4 separate regions of the Homo sapiens genome follow, and regions 1, 2 and 4 are each linked to region 3. The links are contacts of gene promoters, found by promoter capture Hi-C in blood cells and fetal thymus (Javierre and others, 2016). All regions are on one chromosome and are shown on one strand. The core of a region is centred on a gene start or on the middle of the fragment in contact, and the rest is flanking DNA. Distances in the headings are between cores, read along the strand shown.

Region 1 (3,842 bases), core at 1,216-3,715, 1.0 Mb before region 3:
TTTTTTTGAGACGGAGTCACACTTTTGTTGCCCAGGCTGGAGTGCACAATTTCGGCCTACTGCAACCTCTGCCTCCCAGGTTCAAGCGATTCTCCTGCCTCAGACTCCCAAGTAGCTGGGATTATAGGCACCCACTACCACGCCCAGCTAATTTTTGTATTTTTAGTAGAGACGGGGTTTCACCGTGTTGGTCAGATTGGTCTTGAGCTCCTGACCTCAGGTGATCCACCTGCCTCAGCCTCCCAAAGTGCTGGGATTACCAGGCGTGAGCCACCGCACCCAGCCACCTCCCATATTTTCAAATGAATGGATGTGTCACTGTGATTCCAGAGGAGAAACAGAAAATGCAGACTGGGGATCACAACCCCAGGCTTATTTCTATTTTAACTTACTGACAGAGATGAACTTTAGCTAAAATGGGCATTAATAAGTTTCCCAAAGAGTAGGCCTCAGGTAATTCCCTCAATGCACTCCAATGTAGAGGATTTTTCCAGAGGCCAGATAACAGCTGGTGGAGGCCTTACTCCCCACCCTCTTCTCCAAAATGAGGCCATTTTGACATTTAGATATTTGGGAAAATGGGGAGGGAGGGAAATAGCTTTCTGAGTTTTGAAAGCTTCACATGGCAATAATCACAAACACATAAAGTGTGTCTGTTATGTGTAAAAGTGGCGCAACAGTCTTTGATCCCAGCCTCACCAGAGATTGCTACTGGGAAGAAGTGGCAGAAGGCTTCATCCTGCCCACCCGGGGTCTAGCCCAGACATTTTCCTCTGAGTGCCTGGAAGTCTCAGCCTGGAAACTAGCTCTCCAAGCATTGGCGTCTCCTGTGGCTGCCTAGATGACAATGTGCCACACCTGGCTAGTGACACTGAGAAGCTTCCCCACCCTCTGTGCAGGACATCAACAATAACCCCATCCCTGCAGCATCTCCCGTTTAGCCCCTCCATCAGGCAACACCCCCAGAGGAAGAGAATGCGTTTAGCTTGGGAGGTGGGGGAATTTCTCTGGTTGGAGGGGGCAGCCAGGGGCTTGTCATGAAGCTGTGTTTTCATAGGAAGCACACTATTTTAACTCAGGTTGTACATATAAGCATATAAGTGATTGAAAATAGCCCAGTTATTTTTAAATAAATTATTCTCATCAATTCTTATAATTTTTGTTTGGGCTGGTTTTGCGGGGACTGATGAAAATTATGAGGGTCTTCTCTCACGGCTTCCTTCAGGGTCCTACCCCTGTCGAACCTTCGCCATTAATTCTGTCATCCTTTTGCCTGAGATAAGCTATGCGTTTCCACTTTCAAGTACATATATACGGATTCAATACACTCACTGCCTTTCTTTTAAAAAGCTGATTCACTTCAAAGCCAATTTAATTTTGCTTAGTTTTTGATCTCCCCGCGCCCCCTTTCCTCAGCCCCTATACACAGGTAGGTGAGGGTTCTAAAGCCATTTTACAGGCGTGATTGAAGCGGAGGCCACAGAGCGGCAGCGCTGGGTCCCGAGTGAGACTCCCATCATGTGGCTCTGGGGGGCTGCGCAGCTTTGACTGCCTGGACAGACGCCCAGAGCTGCAATTCCTGGGCAGTGTGGGAGGCGTTCGGCTAAAGCTCTTTGTTTCTGCTGTCATGAGCGACTCCTCGGAGAAGACGTGGGAGTCAAGGATGGGGGGCGGCGTGCACACCGCCCGCCCACACCTTCTGCCCCCGCTGCAGACCGGGCGTATGTGTGTCTCCAATGGAAAAATCCTACCCAGGACGACACCACATCCTTGCTCCCACAAATAAAACCTTCCACGGAACTCAGGGCTGCAGACCAGCCCTTCGCAAGCCAACGCGCCCCGTGGGCACTCGGTCCCCCGGCTCCGCGTCTCTGCCACCTTCCCACCGCTTCTTCTTTAACCATGCTCTTGTTTCCCCTCGCTGATCGCAAGGCTGCGGGCGAGGATTCCAGAGAGAGGCCTAGTATGGGGAACAAACGCTTCAGAGGGGTCCGAGGTGGGCTGGGGACAGCCAGTGGATGGGAAGGAGGGCGCTGGCGCCGGGCGGCTGGGGTGGAGGAGTGGCGGGTGCCCTACCCCGGCGCAGAGCAGCCGCCGAGCTGTCATGTCCCGAGCGGCCCCCGCGCCCTCCTTGCGCCCACCTCCGCCGCGCTGGAGTTCGGGGTGTGCGTGGAGGGGGCTGTGAGCGGGAAGCGGCGCGGACGCGGAGTCCGGGCCGGTGCGAGTGAGCGCGTGTGCGCGTGGGAGAGCGGCGGGAGGGGGCCGGGCTCGCAGCCGCAGCGAACCACGGCCCCGGGAGCAGAGCCGAGCGCGCCCCCGAGCCGCCGCCCGCCGGAGCTGCGAGCGCTGAAGCCATTCATGATTTTGGTGACGTTATTCCAGGAGTGGGCGAGGGAGGGCGGGGCCTCTCGGGGCCAAGCCCCGCCCCCGCCCCTATAAATACGGCTTCCCGGGCTCTTTGTGGGGCTGAGTGCTCAGTGGAGAGCGGGGAGTTGTGTCCACCTTGCCGACGTCGCTAGCCGTGGGGCTGTCCTGGGAAGGCGGACGGCGAGCGCCCGGTGTCCGCACTCGGCCGCCTGCCGTGCCCGTCTGCGCCCGTGTCATCCTCACTCGGGACGCAGGGACCGTTTTTAAATCACAGGGGCGTGTGTCAGCCTGCCCTAGGACTTCATGTCTATATATTTCCCCATTCACTGGTGAGTACCCTGCGCCTGCGGCGGGCGTCTGTCTCGCGGCGGTGGCTGCGGGCCCGGGCGCCTGCTTCGTGCCGGCTCCGGGTGCGAGGGCAGCCGGCGGCGCGGGCGCTCAGCGCTAACCCGCCGCCCGAGCCCGTGCAGGAGTCAACGTCAAGGTTGCAAAGGTGGGGGTGGGGGGAGGGGGTGCTGAGAACATCCAGACAAAGGACGTGAACTCGGAGCCCTCACCTAAGTGACGGCCGGAGGGTTTGTATTGGTTGGCGGGGGAGCCAGGGGTCACGTGTGAATCCCCCCCAATGAAACCACCCTATGCGGAGAGCTGCAGGAGGCGCGCGCCCCACTTGGCGCAGGGGGGCTCCTGCTCTTCCCGGGCCCCTCCTCTTTTTCTTTTTGTTTGCATGCAAGTCTCAACGTCGAGGCCGGCAGCAGCGGGGCTGAGCTGGTGCGGCCGCAGGGTTTGCAGAGCTCCGGGGGGGTGGGGGGCGGGAAACGCTCTCCCCACACGTAACCCCACTAAAGCCACAAGCAGCAGGGCACGCGCTGCAGCCTCTCAACCCCTGCCCTCTCCACCGCCCCTAAAAACCGACGCACATTGGTGGGGGCCGGGACTGGGAGGAGCCGCCTTCGCCGTGCTGAAGGGGAAGGAGCCCGGGCCGGGCGCGGGGCGTCGGAGGTTTGCCCCGGACTGGGGATCGGAGCCGGGAGGGATGCAGAGAGAGGCAGGCCCCTGACTGCTGGGACTTCCTTGCTGGCAGTTTCTTCCTTCCTGCTCTGGGTTAGAGGAGAAGCGGCCGGGGGCGAGCGCCGGCAGCCCCGGAGCGCGCTCTCAGGTGCGGACGTGGGGAGCTCGGCCCCGAGTCTCCGGCAGGCGCTGAGCGAAGGGAAAACCGGCGCAAGCCGCGGCGGGGTCCGGCCTGGCCCAAGAAGCGGAAAGTTCATGCTTCTCGCTTCAACTTTTCGGGCCGGCGCCACAGCCCCGAGCGAGGAAGAGCCGCCCCTACGTCAGACTCTTCACCCTGCGTGCGCTCTTCTGGCTCCTTTCTTTGGAGGTCGCCAGCAGCCTTTCCAAGACCCGGGAGGAAACTGCCTTTGCAGGGCCCAGCTCCCGAACCTAAACTTGCCGCAAAGCCCCGCATCTTCTGTTAG
Region 2 (3,760 bases), core at 367-2,866, 1.1 Mb before region 3:
ATTTGAATGAATGAATGGATGGATGTTTTGCATGCTCAATTTCTAGGTCCTTTGTCTAGAAAGGAAATTTGCCTCAGTTGAATTAGTGAAATATTTCTGTCGTTGATATTAAAAGTGACTTCTGAGTACAGTTAAGTTCCTCCTATTTGCCACTGGGCTGTTGGTTAGAAGCATAGGTAACTGATTAAGTAGGTATGATACTGCATTTGAAATAAGTGGACACAAACTATCCTTTCTCCACCATGGACTCAATCTGAGAACAACAGCATTCATTTCCATTCATTTCCATACTGGCTTTTGATTATATGCAGATTCCTAGTAGCATGCCTTACCTACAGCACTATGTGCATTTGCTGTCACAATAAAGTATATTTTGTCTTGCATTGATGCAGTACTGCTGCTTATTTTCCACTGATCTTGTCTAGTGATCATCTTAATTTTTATCTCTGAACACATACTTGGTATCTTTGAGTACCTGTAGCTTTCTTCATTTGGCAATGATAGTGATGTCTGACTTGATTAACTGCCTAATTCACACATGAAGACATTGACTTTGCCAGTATTAACTTCTCTGAGATCATTTTGCCTTAGATACTGATAACTATAGTTCAGTATATATAAACAAAAAAATTTCATATTACTAGGTTAACTTTTAGGTAACTGGCAGGTACCAGCAGCAAGCTCCTCTGTGCCTTTTAAAAACTTCCATTTGCAAAAAAAAAAAAAATATATATTGGAAGGTCTACTTTGGATTATTTACAGAAAACCATTGTTATTTTGAGATGGGGATACTAATTAATAGGAATGATTTTTGCTTTGGGGTGGGAGAGTTAAACAAGTAGAGGTGAACTTAGAACTAAGTAGGTTACTGAGGAATATACAGATTTAAGCTTTTTTTCCCCTGACCGAAGAGGAAAATTCTTCCTCTTAGTCTTAGGTGACAGTAACCGTAAGTTGTTTTGATCTTAAAGTGCTTTTATTTAGACTCTCAAGTGAACATTCCTGGTAAAAATAATTTTAGTAATTATGTGAAGATTTAAGTTACAGTTAGGAGTTGTTACTTTGGGATTGGAGGAGAAAAATATCAGTACCATCTGTTTCCTAAATTTGCCTACTCATAAAGTCATATAGGATGTTTAAATCAGAGTCTGGGCCCAAGCCCAGGCTTAAGTCAGTCAACAGGTAATTTTTGGTGGGGCAGAATTAAGAAACTACCAGTTGTAAAATATTCAGACATGTTTATGATGATTCATTTCTAAACATCAGTTATAAAAAAATCTCAGTTTAAACAGATATCCACTAATTGTTCATCTGTTTAACACCTGTTTCCTACCAGGAGCCATATAAATTTACTTCTAATCTGTGTGAGTTGGGAATAAAGCAAGATTAAACTGAAGGATTCTTATCAGGCTAGCACGTTGCACTGATAAGATCTATTATAGGAAGAAAGCAGAACTAAGCAGAAATTAGGGTGGATATTCTAAGTTGGGTGTTAATTGTATGGCTTATTTTAAAATATTGGGCTTCTCAAATTGAAATTTCTGTGGTAAAGCATAAAATACACATTCCAAAGCATCGTTCAGGGTTGTATAATCCTAGGCATCACTTTACATATTTAGGTTTTAAAAATCATCTGCAGCATAACCACCTGGGAGGCTTGTTAAACATGTCAATTATGTTCTCATTCCCTTCCCCAGTACTGAATGGGTCTCGGGTGGAGCCAAAAATCCAGTTTTTTTTTTTTTGTTTTTTTGTTTTTTTGTTTTGCCAAACTCCAAAAGTAACATGTTTCTTTGATACTGTGAAATACGTATTTGGTCTCCTGGTCTTCGTCTCCATTTCCTAGCAATACAATCCCTAAAATCCTTGGAATTTTCAAATGATTATCTTTTTGTATGCTAATATTGACTGATAGCCAGGGTAGAGCTGGTCACGGGAAAGATACAGGCATGATTAAAGGTGAGGTGCTTTCAGCCTCACAGAGCAACCTCCCGGGAGGGGAAAGGGGCTGCAGGTCAAGTTGATTACCGATTGCTATCAGACAGGTGGGATTTGCTAGAAGGGCCCTGGCTTAGAAAGGTGGACAAGAAAAATGATGGAAATGTGATGGGTCAGAAACCTTTGATTCCTGGGTGGCCACATGGCCACCCATGGTATAGAGCTGCAGCTGCACTCAGTTACTACCAGTAAAATTTAGAGATAGATCCAACTCGTAGAGAGGTGATTGACTGGATGCATAAGGAAATGCAAGCTAATAAGAAAAGTGAACTCTACAATCCCTTGGTTATTATCTATAATAGCTAAAATGAAACAGAGTGCTGGGTCCAACTTTGATGCTGCACCAAGCTTAGGTTTCAGGCTGAGCTTCAGCCACTAGCCTCAGAGCTACCCACAAGGGCAAAGTTAAGCAGCAACAACAAAATACCTCTCAGATCTGTGGTTACCAAGAAGGTAGTCAATGTCGGGGAAAGGCAAAACCAAGTAACTTGAAACCAGAAGGTATAATGTACAAGGATTTGTTACATTTCATAGATCCATATCATTAGTTTCCTGAGGAACCTTTACTAAAATGGACTATGAGAGTAATTTAGGGGCAGTATCTTTTGTTTTAAATGCTGCAGAATGGAAGAAATGTTTGGGTTGATGGAGGACCCACAGCTCACTATTGAAAGATTGCAGATGGCTAAACATGATCCAGACACATAGGAGGTTATTCTTGAGGAACAGCTAGTCTGGGGGACTGGATTTAAAAAGCCACTGTAAGATCTGTTTACCCTGAGAATGGGGACTGTCCAACTTCCCCTATAAATGCCAAGCAGAACACCCAAGATAAAGCAGCTAATATACTTCATGTGCAAGCCATGTGGGACTGGCTTTATGATGACCCCGATAGTCACCCACCATGTATGCCCATTACCCGTGTCATGGCCAGTGCTATAGTTAAGAGAGCCCCATTTTCATGGGCACCTCATACAACCTTGCTGCTACAAAACATCTGCTAATACATGAGAATCATTATTCAAAGGGTTATTGAAAATACAGTTGTGGTATGTTACCACCTGATAAAAGCCTATGTCACAAGAGGCTGATAGGCTAAGAAGTATGGGTAAGAAAAAAAAAAACAGATTAATATGGCTTTCCATCTGCTTTAAAAAGTGTCTTAAAATGGATTAATACACCAATTAGATAAACTGGCTTTAAGGAGCAGAAGAGTCCCTGGGAAAGAGGCATCTAGTTTCTGGGAAGACTGCTACATGTAAAATATAAAGACATATCTTCGGCCGGGCACAGTGGCTCACGCCTATGATCCCAGCACTTTGGGAGGCCGAGGCGGGCAGATGACAAGGTGAGGAGTTCAAGACCAGCCTGGCCAACATGGTGAAACTCTATCTCTACTAAAAATACAAAAAATTAGCTGTGCGTGGTGGCGAGCACCTGTAATCCCAGCTACTCGGGAGGCTGAGATAGGAGAATCACTTGAACCCAGGAGGCAGAGGTTGCAGTGAGCCGAAATTATACCACTGCACTCCAGCCTGGGCGACAGTGCAAGACTCCATCTCAAAAAACAAACAAACAAACAAAAAAAACATCAATGCTGACTAACTTTAGCTGTGTGACTTTGGGAAGTCAGTTAACCTCTGAATCTTAGTTCTCTCAAGTGTGAATTGTAAAAACAAGCCTTGTCTTAAATCTTGTCAGAACATAGTGAAATATAGAACATAAAAACCTGTTGATAAGCAGTATGCATATATCTGGAGTA
Region 3 (3,636 bases), core at 1,116-3,615:
CAAGGTCCAGACGCCACTGTATTAACACCAGGCGTGGCACGGGGCCGCAAGCCTTGCTCCACTAGGAAGGCCAGTGTCTGTTCCGGGTGTTTGATTCTCATGCCTTGTGAGTTGTTAAATATCTTTAATATTACTCCTTAGGTTCGTATGTTGGTAGTAGCTAAACACCAAGGGTGAAATATTAATCTGAGTGAATTCTCAACAAGAGATGATCAGTTTTGGGGTTCAAGGAGGGAGTCGGGAGATCTGAGATGTAACTAAGGAGATTCTATTCAGCACTGGCCTCTGATAATCCCCCCTCCCCTGAAATCCCTGCAGCTTCACCACACTCCTCTTGAAGCTCCTGCAGGCACTTCAAACGCAACACGTTTTAGATTGAACACATTATCTCTGTCTGCTAAATCAGCTCTCTCTCTGCCTCCCCTAATTAGTGGAAGAGCTTCTCCAATGATCTTATCCCCTATGGTAGAAAATTCAAAATCATCCTAGACTGTGCCTCACCCTTATGTCCTCTTTTTTTTATCACATACCAAGATCTGACAATTCTATTCCATGAAAAAAATCTTTTGAGTCTGACCTCTTCTCCAATCCCATTGCAGCTGTCTCCTAAGTTTTGGAATAGTTTCCTAAATGGTCTCTTGGCCTCTGTATTCGTCTGTTTTCACACTGCTGTGAAGAAATACCTAAGACTGGGTAATTTATAAAGGAAAAAGGTTTAATTAACTCACAGTTCTGCATGCCTAGAGAGGCCTCAGGAAACTTACAGTCATGGCATAAAGGGAAGCAAACACGTCCTTCATAAGGCGGCAGGAGAGAGAAGTATGAGGAACCAAGTGGGAAGAGCCCCTTATAAAACCATCAGCTCTCACGAGAACTCACTCACTATCATGAGAACAGCATGAATGAAACTGTCCCTATGATCCAATCTCCTCCCACCAGCTCTCTCCCTAAACGCATGGGGATTATGGGGATTACAATTAGAGATGAGATTTATGCGGGGACACAAAGCAAAACCATATCAACCCCCAACCTCTTTTGCCCCTCCAACACTGCTCTTGGCATTCCAGTTCCTGCCTGGTCCATAGCCTACTCCTTCTTCATCTGTGGAAGGGAGGGTAGTGGGAGTCATTAGCCTGGGCAGGGAGGAGTGTTTTATCACTACACTGTTTAGAATGGTGCCAATACAAAGCACATCAACTTTCAGCAAGTTTATTATTGGGTTTAAATTCTCTACACACGATGCACTGCTTTTGCCTACACCTGGACAGTGTTCCCACTCACTCTCCTTAGTATGATGCTGGAGATAATATGATCTGCCATGAAGGTTAAATAAAGCAATGTTCACTGAGAACTTAGCCCAGGCCCCTGCACATGCTGAGCATTTTGTTAATGTAACAATGATTAGTAATAGCATTGCTATTGGTTCCCCATCTCTGGCAAAGCCTTTCATGCTTGGCCTCCCTCACTCTCTTTCACCTTCCTAAACCCTACACTCCAGCTATGCCAAACTGTTTACTCTGCCTTGGACACACCAAGTTCCTCAAGCCTTTGCAAATACTCCTTACGCTCCTAGAACAATGGATGTCAATTCATCATTTAGGATCCAGCTTACAGTCATGCTTTCCATGAAGCCTTCCTCAAATTAGCCACACAAAAGGAGTGACTCCTCCCTGTATTCCCATGACCCTCTGCTCATGCCTCCTCTTTAAAGCCTGCCTTCACTGGAGTTCCTGGAAGGGAGAGTCTGTTCAGCACTCATCTCTGTATCCACAGTCACCAAAATTGTAACTGCCCCATAATAAATTCCCAATACTTGCAGGGATTTTGCTTCTTGGCTTGTTTTGTTTTGCTGGAATGAATGAATAAGTAAATGGGAACGATTTTGACTTCACCCTAAGCCTAGCTAAAAGTTTGGGTAGTGACAGTTTTGGTTATTTTGTGTAACCTGATAGTGGATCCCCTTTCTATGCCAAAAAAAAAAAAAATCCCCCAATACTAGAGTACCTGTTTTCCTAGGGAATTGACCTCAGCAACTGAAGGAGAGGCGATTCAAAGCAGGGAGTGTGATGAATAGGTCAACTCTGTCCTCGCAGCCGTCCCTGAGAGGGCGCTGTTCCCAAATCGAAGCCCCAGAGGCGGAGACTGAGACACCGGCACTCTCCCACTGGACTGGGTCAGCATCCCTCTCCCCGCGCGGCCGCAGGTCTAGAGCTGAGCGCCTGCCCACAAACATGGCGGCGCCCTGCGCGGCTTCCCGTCGCCGCAACCGTGGGGCCGGCCCTGCCTTGCCAGTACTAGGGGACTTCCTCTGCGCGCCGGCTTCCTGCCCAGCTGGCATTTAAACCACCGCCTGGGGCTGCAGGATGCTGCTGCGGATGCAGAGCTGTCCGCGGGCTGGGCAGCGTCGCCGTCTCCCCTGAGCCGCCTCGGTCCGGCAGGAGCGGAGCCGAAGCATCCCTTGCTGCACGCAGGGCAGAGCAGGCGAGGGCTGGGGGCCGATCGGGGACCCCGGCTTGGGACCCCGGCATCTGGCAGTTTCCTTGCAGGTTCAACTTTAATTGCCAAGATTTCACCCCTCCTCCTCAAGCCCAGATTATTTATCCTCCCTCCGGCCTGGGCTGCTGGATGCAGCAGCGGCTGGGCTTGGTCCCAGGAGCAGGGAGAGTGCGCTCCCGGCCCTCCTAGCCGCGTGCCCGGGCCATGGTGCGGCTGAGCCCCGCGCTTGGGTGAGGCGGCGGCGCGGCTCGGAGCCCGGCGGACCGGTCCTACGGGACATCTTCCCCTGAGGAGGAGTCTTCCCCTGGGGCTGCGTGCCGGGGGCGAGCGGCGGCCGCGATGTTCAGCTGGCTGGGTACGGACGACCGCCGGAGGAAGGACCCCGAGGTTTTCCAGACGGTGAGTGAGGGGCTCAAGAAACTCTACAAGAGCAAGCTGCTGCCCTTGGAAGAGCATTACCGCTTCCACGAGTTCCACTCGCCCGCCCTGGAGGATGCCGACTTCGACAACAAGCCCATGGTTCTGCTGGTGGGCCAGTACTCCACTGGGAAGACCACCTTCATCAGGTGAGCCGGCCCAGGGTCCTGGCAGCCCACCCCGGAGCCCAGCGCCTAGTCCCTCCGGTCACTCCTGGTGCTCCATCCCAGACAGGGGACCAATGGGAAGCCTTCAGTTGAGGGCTCTGAAGAGATCTGTGTTTGTGCAGGCGTCAAAATCTTACCCCACAATTTTTGCTGGTCCCCCTTCCCATCCTACCCAATACCTGTCCACTCTACTTGGCCCTTGGCTGTGGTGGTCAACCTGAAGTATTCAAGTGTAAAGCCATTCCCAGTCTCCCCATCTTATGGATGATGAAACCGAGGCCCAGGAGGCACAATGGAAGAGCTCCTGGTCTCTGGAGCGCCTTATGTTGGTGGGGATGTCTTACGTCTTCACTTTTTAGCAACACATCATTCACGGGCAAAACCTCTTCCCTTGTTTTTCAAGGGGCTTGGCACTCACATGGGGGCCTCACAGTTGCAGCTGAGTTCTGATGGGTGCGGGCCTGGGAACGGAGGTGGCCTGGGGATGCTACTTGTCCTCCTTTTATCATTTCCTTCTCTAAAGCAGAGCTCCTGTGTATATATCTTGGAGACTCAA
Region 4 (3,388 bases), core at 77-2,576, 1.0 Mb before region 3:
CAGAGCATAGAAATGGCTGCTATTTCACTTCCACTTCCAAATCTCATGAACTCCTCTTATGGCCAACCCTAGCCTAGAACAGTACAAGAAAGGGAATTCTGAAAATTCCTTAGTATTTCTGGTTAAAGTGATGTACATAGGCACCAAACTCACGTAAGGATAGCCTCTCCCATAGGAATGTGGCCAAGCTTACACAAGTGTACAGCAGGGTTGGAGGTCTCCCTGGCCCCTTCAGTTCTACTGCTCATGTCTTTCCCTGCCTTTAGGGCTAGCAGCAAATGATGCAAGTGTGTGCTGGTGTGGGTAAAAATCCAGGGCTCCAGGCGGAGGGCTGTCTTGCTATAGACACAAATCTCTTTGAGGATAGACTTGTATTCCCAGCAAAAACCTGGTCCCTGCGGGAAGGGAATGGAGCCAAGAATGCATATAGACATCTGAGCGTCTCCAAACGTGGCTGAGAGCAGGGGTTATTGGAATGTACTTCTTTTTTTTTTTTTTTTTTTTGAGACAGAGTCTTGCACTGTTACCCGGGCTGGAGTGCAATGGCACAATCTTGGCTCACTGCAACCTCCACTTCCTGTGTTCAAGCAATTCTCCTGCCTCAGCCTCCCAAGTAGCTGGGATTACAGGTGCCTACCATTATGTCCAGCTAACTTTTTGTATTTTTAGTGGAGACGGGGTTTCACTGTGTTGGCCAGGCTGGTCTCAAACTCCTGACCTCATAATCTGCCCACCTTGGCCTCCCAAAGTGCTGGGATTACAGGCATCAGCCACCATTCCCGGCCAGGGATGCACTTCTTACAGGCAGCAGAAATAGCCCCTCTCTACCCCAAACTCCGTTTAGAATTTGAGTTCACCACAGATTATGTATAAAAATCAACATTAACAATAATGATAACTAATATTTTGATAGTGATTAGTATTTGCCAGGCACTATTACAAATATTTTATATACACACCACTTTAACTCATGTAACAAATCCATCAGCACTAATGGACTAGGCCCTGCTTGGTTAAAAAAAGAAAAGGTGACAACCACAGACTAATACTATTTAGGTATAAGTTACCACAGATGATTTCAAGATTTGACATTACGTTTTTTAAAAACTTTCATCTTATCAAGAGCTATTTTCATGGAAATGGAGTTTCACTGAACAAGAATATTGTAATCTGCCAACAAGGTCGAAGTACCCTAAGCTTCTCCCGTCAAGAGACGGAGTCTATTTCTCACCCCTTGAGTCTGGGCTGGCCTGTGACTTGCTTTGGAATGCCATGCAAGTGACAGCTCACCAGTTTTGAGCATAGCCCTCAAGAGACTTTATAGCTTCAGTTCTCTCTTAAAATCTAGTTTTGCCACATGGGACAAGCCTAAAAGAAAAGACACTACATGGAGAGAGGCCCCAGATCATCCTGGCTGAGGCCCCAGACAAGTGAGTGTGTCCAGGGAACAACAGCCAAGCTTAGCCCAGACTGAAAGGACCTCCCAGCTAAGCCCAGAATCAGGAACTGAATAAATTATTGTTGTTCTTAGTCACATGATTTTGTTATGCAACCAAAACTGATATGGGGGAGACACTAAAAGCTAGATTTTACGTCTGCCTGATATCCTGGGCTCTTAGTGTTCTTTTCAAAATTCTTTCTGCAAATTCATGGAGTCACCTGTACCCTTCATGATGGGTACTGATTGATGGAGTTTAATTGTGTCCCTTTTATTCAAACAAACATTTCTCCCCTATCAAGTATATTTTTAAATTCTGACAAGAAAACATGGAAAATATAGAAAAGATTAAATAAGGAAACAAATAAAACTATAATTAAATAATCCACAGATAGGGACTGTTAATATTTATGGTTTTTTCTTTCACATATTTTTCCATTATATATTATAAATGTATACATATGCATATCATATTATTCTACATGGGTGTATATATTATACACACGTGTATTATATAATTAGTTTATGTAGTTCTGAATCCCACTTTTCTCTTCACAAGATTCTTATATATTCCCAGCCATTAAAATTCTTGGAAAACATCACTCTAATGGGTATAATTGCCCATCATAAAGATATATCATAATTTATTTAACTGCTTCCCAATTGTTGGACATTATTCTGTCTTCAATTTTTTATTATTATAAGTGGCAATGTCATGAACATCTGTGTACATCTTTGTTCAGATCCTTGAATCTGTCCTCAGGAAGATGGAATTGCTGGGTTAAAGAGCACCAGCATTTAAAGTTTTATCCATAAAAGGAACTACAATCCAAACATCTCGGGAAGAATATCTAAAGGAAGACAATGTTTATCTCTACTCCTGATGTTTAAGCCAGGAACAGGTCTGCTTTTGTTTTACTGGTACTAGGTCGGGAAAGAAATGCTCAGTGAAACAGAAGTCCAGGCATTCAGTTCTGGACGCCAGGGAACCCTAGCCCAGGGCCCCTCTCTACCGAATTGCTCAGACCCTCCGTGACCACTCTTGAGGTGTGTTCTCCTGGCTGGAGAGAGGAGATGCAGGCTGGAGAAGACATGGCGGAGTCCAGGGACCATTCTTGTCCTGGCTCCCGGAACACGCTCCTCTTAGGGGTTTCATTTCCCTCTAGGCTGGGAATGCTGCCAGGGGGCTGAGGAACTGATGTTCCCAAGGCTGGTACATTTGATTTTCACTCTTGGCTAGAATTCAGAGCAGAGAAAAGTAAACTGCATCTGGGCCAAGGTGAGCCTGTCTCCTTGGAGGTCCTTGGGCTAAATGGAGGAGAAGGGTATACAGAGCTGAGAGCCAAGGAAGCCGATGAGGAATTGCACTTGGGTGTGGAGAACAAAACTACGTGGCCATTGATTGACTCAGGAGCTCTGCTGGAGGTGCCCTTGGCTCCCTGCATCTTAATCCTGGCCTGAGAATGGTCAGTCTACTTGAGGGCCAGTAATACGATCTTAAACCTTCATGACTTACGCCTCAGTACCAAGGCCAGTCCCTTCATTTGAAAAGGAAGAAGGAAGAAAACTAGAATCCATTGGCGATTTGCTGTGTGCCAGGCACTTTACAATACAAAGAAGGCTTATTAATATTCTCATTCAAAAAAATAAACAAACCAACGCCACAGTAAATGATGGGATTTGCTTAAGGTTTTGGGACTAATTAATTCAAAAACTGAGACTTGGCTAGGCACAGTAGCTCATGCTTGTAATCCCAGCACTTTGGGAGGCTGAGGCAGGTGGATCACCTGAGGTCAGGAGTTTGAGACAAGCCTAGCTAACATTGTAAAACCCCGTCTCTACTAAAAATACCAAAAATTAGCCAGGCGTGGTGGCAGGCACTTGTAATCCCAGCTACCCGGGAGGCTGAGGCAGGAGAATTGCTTGAACCTGCGAGGTGGAGGTTGCAGT

Evidence for each region. The method cuts DNA at HindIII sites, captures the fragments that hold promoters and counts their contacts. A CHiCAGO score of 5 or more calls a contact.
Region 1: a contact is called between the fragment with the promoter of LBH here and the fragment with the promoter of EHD3 in region 3, in 1 of 17 cell types (total B cells). The highest score is 5.1, in total B cells.
Region 2: a fragment that was not itself captured here is called in contact with the fragment with the promoter of EHD3 in region 3 in 1 of 17 cell types (total B cells); the score reaches 6.9 in total B cells.
Region 4: a contact is called between a fragment that was not itself captured here and the fragment with the promoter of EHD3 in region 3, in 1 of 17 cell types (M0 macrophages). The highest score is 5.8, in M0 macrophages.

The regions. Positions count from the first base shown.
Region 1 is chr2:30,229,069-30,232,910 of GRCh38, forward strand. It overlaps LBH (LBH regulator of Wnt signaling pathway), which reads left to right and starts at 2,466. Exons shown (of 3, transcript NM_030915.4): 1 at 2,466-2,696. The coding sequence starts at 2,671. RefSeq lists enhancers at 1,132-1,647, 1,648-2,162 and silencers at 1,966-2,515, 2,716-2,805, 3,196-3,395, 3,406-3,465. The HindIII fragment of the contact is 3,135 bases long and covers 878-3,842 here.
Region 2 is chr2:30,160,151-30,163,910 of GRCh38, forward strand. YPEL5 (yippee like 5) reads left to right here. Exons shown (of 3, transcript NM_016061.3): 3 at 1-383. Among named protein-coding and RNA genes, the nearest start is that of YPEL5, 15 kb to the left of the region's middle. The HindIII fragment of the contact is 1,456 bases long and covers 889-2,344 here.
Region 3 is chr2:31,231,787-31,235,422 of GRCh38, forward strand. EHD3 (EH domain containing 3) reads left to right here and starts at 2,366. Exons shown (of 6, transcript NM_014600.3): 1 at 2,366-3,062. The coding sequence starts at 2,836. It also overlaps a transcript of CAPN14 not described here. The HindIII fragment of the contact is 24,555 bases long and covers 1-3,636 here.
Region 4 is chr2:30,200,711-30,204,098 of GRCh38, forward strand. LOC124907749 (a long non-coding RNA gene) reads left to right here. Exons shown (of 2, transcript XR_007086267.1): 2 at 1-1,530. Among named protein-coding and RNA genes, the nearest start is that of SNORA10B, 15 kb to the left of the region's middle. The HindIII fragment of the contact is 262 bases long and covers 1,196-1,457 here.